Linked DNA regions of Homo sapiens: region 1 is linked to region 2. The links are contacts of gene promoters, found by promoter capture Hi-C in human tissues and cell types (Jung and others, 2019). All regions are on one chromosome and are shown on one strand. Each heading gives the region's core, a stretch centred on a gene start or on the middle of the fragment in contact. The rest is flanking DNA. Distances are from core to core; before and after follow the strand shown. Region 1 has its middle 100 kb from the start of PRSS1. Region 2 holds the start of PRSS1 (serine protease 1).

Region 1 (3,284 bases), core at 618-3,117, 100 kb before region 2:
CTACGATGATAAAAATAGTAACTATCAAGTGTTGGCAAGGCAAAGTGTCAACAAGAACTCTCTGAATCACTGGCTAGAGTGTATATCGGTAGATCCAGTTTGGAAAACAATTTGGTATTATCTAGTAAAGTTCAAGATGTGTGTACCCACTATCCATCAATTCCACCCTTGAGAAAGGCTTTTCTAGAGAAACCCTTCTACGAAAATCAGGACAAGAATATTCACTGTAATACATCTGTCATGGCAAAAACGTATAAAATATCCAAATGTAACTTAAGAGAAGAATAAATCCTGGTTATTAAAAAGAAATTACACAGCAGTGAAAATTCATGAACTAAAACTAAACACACAAACATGAATGAATTTCACAAATTTGAATGAAAAATTACATTGCAGAAGAAAGGTACAGTATTGTCTCGTTTGTGTAAAGTTTGAAAGCATCTAAAACTAAACACTATTTTGTTTGCTTATGTGCCTATGCATTAAAATATAAAAGAGAAGCAAATAATTACAAAAACAAACACCTCAATAGAGTTAGAGAACAGAGGCATGGAATCTGGGAAAAGAAATAAGAGCTTTCAAATATTCTGGTAATCTTTTATTTCCTGTGCCAAGTTGTTTTTTTAAGTGATCATTCTGTTGGTATTTTATCAAGTTATTATCTATATATTCAAAGTCCATTTTGTAATGTGGAGAAAACAACCTCACTGAACAATTAAATTAGTAAGGAGAAATCTATGGAAAGATATACATTAAGCTGTTAACATTACTTACCTGAAATGAGGATGAGATGGAGGAAGAGAAAAGTAAGCGAAAAAAAAAATCATCAAAAAATGCACAATTTAAAATAAATAGTTACAGAGAGAAAAAGCAAAAAAGGGAGGTTATGTAAAAGAAGCACTAGTAAATGAACAAGCTAAAATACACCAGAAAGAGCTAGAAGGTGAAGTATTTTTCAAAGCAGTCACTAGTTTCAGAATCATAAAGATAGCAATTACAACAGAGATCTGAAATATATAAAAGATAATTAGATAACTAATAGCCAGAAGGAATGTCCAGTCTTGAGTTAGAAACTGATGCTCAAATTAATGGCAAAGGACGTTTTTGAAACAACTGTGAAACTTTGCATAAAAACTAAATAGTAGATAAGATGAAAATGCATCGATGAGAAAGGATGATCATTAACTGAAAAAAAGCTTATCAAACAGAATTTCAAGAATATTGTTTACTAAAAAAAGTGTCTATATATCTACACATTTATATATGGGGCAGAGAAGGATCTAGAAAGACTCACTAAGGTGTTAACAGTGATAATTGCTTTCTGGCAGTGGTATCATATTTTTATTTTGTTATTTTATTTTCTAACTTTCTAAAATATGAGTGTATTGCTTATATTAGCAAAAATAGACATAACATATTTTTAAATGAATACAAAATAACTGAGTTATATTTCCTGAGTTAGGATAAAAGCTTTTTTTCCCTGATACTATGAAGTGTTTTTGCTCAGGAACATGAAGCAATAACATGATGATTATAAGTCAGTGGAGGGATCACGTCACAAGAAGGTGCAGAAAGGGGATGAAAAAGCCTCATCCCTTTGCAACGTCAATGCGATCATGGGCACCAGGCTCCTCGGCTGTGCAGCCCTGTGTCTCCTGGCAGCAGATGCGCCCTGAGCACAAAAGAAAAATCCTTGTCCTGGGCTTGCCAACCAGCAGATCCAAGCTTTGTTTTGTTTTGTTTTGTTTTGTTTTGTTTTGTTTTGTTTTGTTTGTTAAGCTCTTTCCTGGACTCTTTCTACAGCATCTGTTTCTTTCTCTTACAGACTCTTTTCATGCCAAAGTCACACAGACTCCAGGACATTTGGTCAAAGGAAAAGGACAGAAAACAAAGATGGATTGTACCCCCGAAAAAGGACATACTTTTGTTTATTGGTATCAACAGAATCAGAATAAAGAGTTTATGCTTTTGATTTCCTTTCAGAATGAACAAGTTCTTCAAGAAACGGAGATGCACAAGAAGCGATTCTCATCTCAATGCCCCAAGAACGCACCCTGCAGCCTGGCAATCCTGTCCTCAGAACCGGGAGACACGGCACTGTATCTCTGCGCCAGCAGTCAATCCACAGCACTGAAATGTCAGTTCCTCTTAGCACACAAACTTGTCACAGACCCAGCTCAGGAAGCAGGTGATGTATTAGGCTGGAAGGGAGTAACAGAAAATAACTGGAGCCAGCTTAAGCCACAGTGTAATTTAACACAAGGATAAAGGGTGTTTAGCAGAAGTCAAGAGGTGATAGAAGTTCTGAAAAGGCACCACTAGGGCTGGGCTCTAGAATGGCTATCTCTCCAGCGCTGATTTTTATTCAATTTTGGCTGCTGAATGCTTTTCTCTCCCTGTACACCATCTCTTTTTCTCCAGGCCTCGTGGTGAGAATGAGATGGTCACTAAAGATTACAAATTCAGTTGCCATCATTTCCCTACACTGATAAATACCAGGCTGGCTCTTTCTAAGCCTCAATTCAAAATCCCAAGAGAAAAAAACAGATCAGTCATGATCCAGCCATTAACCTTCTCACAGAGCACTCAGCAGTAGGCATGTATGTATATATTTAAAATCACATAAATATTACTTTTCCACTCAGCTCAAGAAAGGGAAGTGCTCCGTTTTTCTGTAAGTACATTTGGTCTTGTTGCTTCTACATGATAGAGAGTACTCATACCCATTTCTTCAGAAATACATAGCCAGATTTTCTCCAGTTTTCTGCCAGAATTGAAAATTCTTGTACAAATACCTTCATAGACTTGTATGATTGCTTTATAGGATTATATACCCAGAGCAAGTCATGATTGCTGAGACATGGAATTCTATGCATATTTTATCTATCTAAATACCACCACGGGTTCTTCAGGATCACTGTATACATCTGCAATCCCACATAAAAGTGAATAGGGTGTTTTCCTACATCCTAATATCTCCTTTAATCCTTATCCAGTGATCTAGATTGTTCTCAGTCTAGCAATGTAAAGAGATTCCAATCTCTGTCTCTCTTTCTCTCCACCCCCCACCCCTGCAACCCTCTCACCTACTGCCAGAATATCATCAGTGTTTACCATAAAGATACAGGTGACAATTTTTTAAAACTAAATAAAACCAATAATTTAAAGGAACTGAGAGATTACGTTATACTACTATAATAATAACTGGCAGCAATCTAGAAGGCTGAATAATGTTCTCTCCCTCCTTTTCTTTCCTTTGCAATTTTCTAATTACTAATGAGTTT
Region 2 (3,050 bases), core at 380-2,879:
CTCTATAAATGGAAACAATTTTGCTCTGCACAAATTACAATTAGCATGTTTGTGGGAAGTTAAAGTGTGAAACTCAGCATAAATGAAAAGTAATGTACCACTGTTGCTTACATGAAAACTCTTGTAAAGTTGTCAGGCACTGTGCACCATCTAAGCATAGCAGTGTTAGGTATGGGCCCATTAGTGATTAGAGGGGGTGCGAGGCGGAGAGGGGGTCTCCAAGCAGTGGGTCTCCTGGCTGTGGGGAAGCTGGCTCAGCAGCCATACCAGGAGCTGAAACCGAAGGTACTCTGTGTGTCCTCTCAACACCATGGGCCCCACTTTGGCATTATTTCCAATTCCCTCTGGTTTCCATTTGCTTCCTCCCTCTAGCCCCCTGGCCAGGTCCGATTTCAACACCAAGTTTCTGAGCTTTTCCCATTTTGTCCACCGTCTCTAGAACATTTCTGCTTCTTTTACCTTTCAAAGAATCCAAACTTGAACTCTACTTACTCCTGCCCATCACCAGCCTGAGCTCAGAGTTGCTGAGAAGGGAAAGCACCCTCATAAGGAAGCTCCTCCTTTCCCTACATCATTAGACTTGAGCACAGACAGCATCTCCATTTCCACACTGCTCTGGCCAGGTTGTGCCTCAGTCAATTACACAACTGTGTCTTAGTAGCCTTGGTAGGGCCCAAATCAGGATATTCTCTAGGAAGATTCACTTTGTACTGAGCCAAGCATAATCTCACTGCATCGAAAATAGAAAATGATCATCTGATCATTCTGGTTCAGACTGTCAGCCCTGAGCAGGTGGGTCAGTTTGCATCACCTGAGTGCAGATTGCAAGGACAACAGTGAGGCTGCATAAAAAGAACCTATGACAGGATGCACATGAGAGAGACAAATGTCTTCACATTGAAGAAGGGGAGGAGTGCGCCATTGGTTTTCCATCCTCCAGAGGCACTGAGAAAGCTCCTACAGAAACTGTGCCCCCTCCTTCTTTGAAACACTTCCCATCCTTAAGCCTTGGTAGGAAGGAGAGAAATCTGGAAGCCCAGAATCCTATGGAATGCTGAGTCTCCCTTCTCCTTACCCCTTAGTGTTGGAATTTTCATTCCCCAAAATCTTGCATTTGACCTTCCTGCACACTGACTGGAGAGAAGCATCTTCATATTCACAGGAATGAGCCTTAGATAAGACTTTGCTCCTCTCATGTGGGCCCCAGGAAACTGAAATCCAAGCTTTTTACCAATGCTTGCCCTTCCTTAAGTACATTAAATACATTCCCAATAGGTGGAAAGATTTGTAAACAGCTAGGCCATTCTCCCTCCTTCTAACCCTCATCTCCAGGGCCTAAGAAAGCCCAGCTCTGTTATCTGGGGCTTGACTTTCCCTGTCTTCCCCATCCCAGTATCCTTGCAGGAAACAGCCGGTCTCGCTCTCTGCTCTCAGAAGGAAAGTTTCCTTATCACCTGTGAATCACAAACCCAGAGAGTGGCCAAACATAGCCAGGCTGATGCAAGACCCTGGGAAGAGGAAAGCTGCAGGTGTGTTTGTGCTGGGAGGAGTGGTGACCCTCACCTCACAGTCACCTCCTCTCTGGATCCTCGTGAGGTATAAAGACGAGTCCTCCACCACCAGTCAGGCACACTCTACCACCATGAATCCACTCCTGATCCTTACCTTTGTGGCAGCTGCTCGTGAGTATCATGCCCTGCCTCAGGCCCCAACCACCCCCCCGTTCCTGGCCGACAAATGCCCTTCCATTCTTACCACCTCTCCTCTTTTGACTGTGCTCTGATATTCCGTTTCCTCCATCTGGCATATCTCCTTCCCATCCTCCTTGGGCTCTTTTTAAGTCTCACCTGTTCACCTTCTCCTTGACTTCACTCCCACCACTGTCATTCATCCATATCCGAGTTGTGGTTGGAGAAGCTGGGAAGGGGGCCAGGTGGGGCTGTCCCACGAAATGAAGCAGCAGGCTTCAGGCTTGGCTCCAACAGCAACAGAATAGCACCACTATAGCTGCTCCTAACCTCGAATGCACCTGGGGAGGTTGAAAAATTACTCATGCCAGAGACTCAGCTCTAGAAATTCTAACTTCAATTGTCTGGGGTAGAGCTTGTGTTCTGGGCTTTTAAGCTTCCCAGGTGATTTTTAATATTTCCAGCCATGCAGCCAAGGTTAAGAATTGCTGTCCTATTGGCCAATAACAAAGTCTACCTTTGTTCTGCCAAAGTGAGCCTGGGGGCTGCCCTCAACTCTGCCCTGACTGCACAGATCTGAGCTATGGGGGAAGGTGGTCATGGCCAGGTCTATGCAGACAGGGGGTTTTCCTAGCTTGGCAAAAGAATCCTGACAATCCAGGGCCCAAATAGCCAGGGGAAGTACACAGGTGATGAATAAAAGAGAGAAGCACTCAGTGGGAGAGACAACCACATCCCAACTCCTATCCCACTGGAAGCATTGTGAGGACATTCCTTGCGACTTCAGCCTGGTGACCCCAGGAGAGCTCGGATCCTCCGCAGGGTACCTAGCTATGTGCCCTGCAGGCACAGAGACTTGGGAGCCACAGGCAGTGATGATCACCAGGGGTGGCAGAGCTCCCTCCCTTGCCTAGCCTCACTGTGCTTGTTAAGGATTTCTAATTAGCAGAAAGCAATCACAGGCTGGGAGCGCCACCCCTAACATGCTATTGACTTGCCTTCTCCCTTCCCATCTCCACTCCAGTTGCTGCCCCCTTTGATGATGATGACAAGATCGTTGGGGGCTACAACTGTGAGGAGAATTCTGTCCCCTACCAGGTGTCCCTGAATTCTGGCTACCACTTCTGTGGTGGCTCCCTCATCAACGAACAGTGGGTGGTATCAGCAGGCCACTGCTACAAGTCGTAAGTGTGGGGCCCCCGACTGCAAAGCTCCCGGCCAGTCTGCCTGGGAGAGCTTGGCTTCAGCCCAGGGAACTACTGAGGTTGGGTAAGATGGATGGGAGAGGTGGTGGAGAAGAAAACTTGTTGGCAGCTGCGGACTCTCCAGAGCAGAGAGTGAACACAAGACAGGAACCTCTCA

The links. The method cuts DNA at HindIII sites, captures the fragments that hold promoters and counts their contacts. A contact is called where the count stands out against the background at its distance.
Region 1: a fragment that was not itself captured here is called in contact with the fragment with the promoter of PRSS1 in region 2 in 3 of the 25 tissues and cell types used here (aorta, dorsolateral prefrontal cortex and pancreas).

Annotation. Positions count from the first base shown.
Region 1 is chr7:142,644,345-142,647,628 of GRCh38, forward strand. It overlaps TRB and the pseudogene TRBV23-1. Among named protein-coding and RNA genes, the nearest start is that of PRSS1, 100 kb to the right of the region's middle. The HindIII fragment of the contact is 4,098 bases long and covers 1-3,284 here.
Region 2 is chr7:142,747,843-142,750,892 of GRCh38, forward strand. PRSS1 (serine protease 1) reads left to right here and starts at 1,630. Exons shown (of 5, transcript NM_002769.5): 1 at 1,630-1,682; 2 at 2,713-2,872. The coding sequence starts at 1,643. It also overlaps TRB. The HindIII fragment of the contact is 6,237 bases long and covers 1-3,050 here.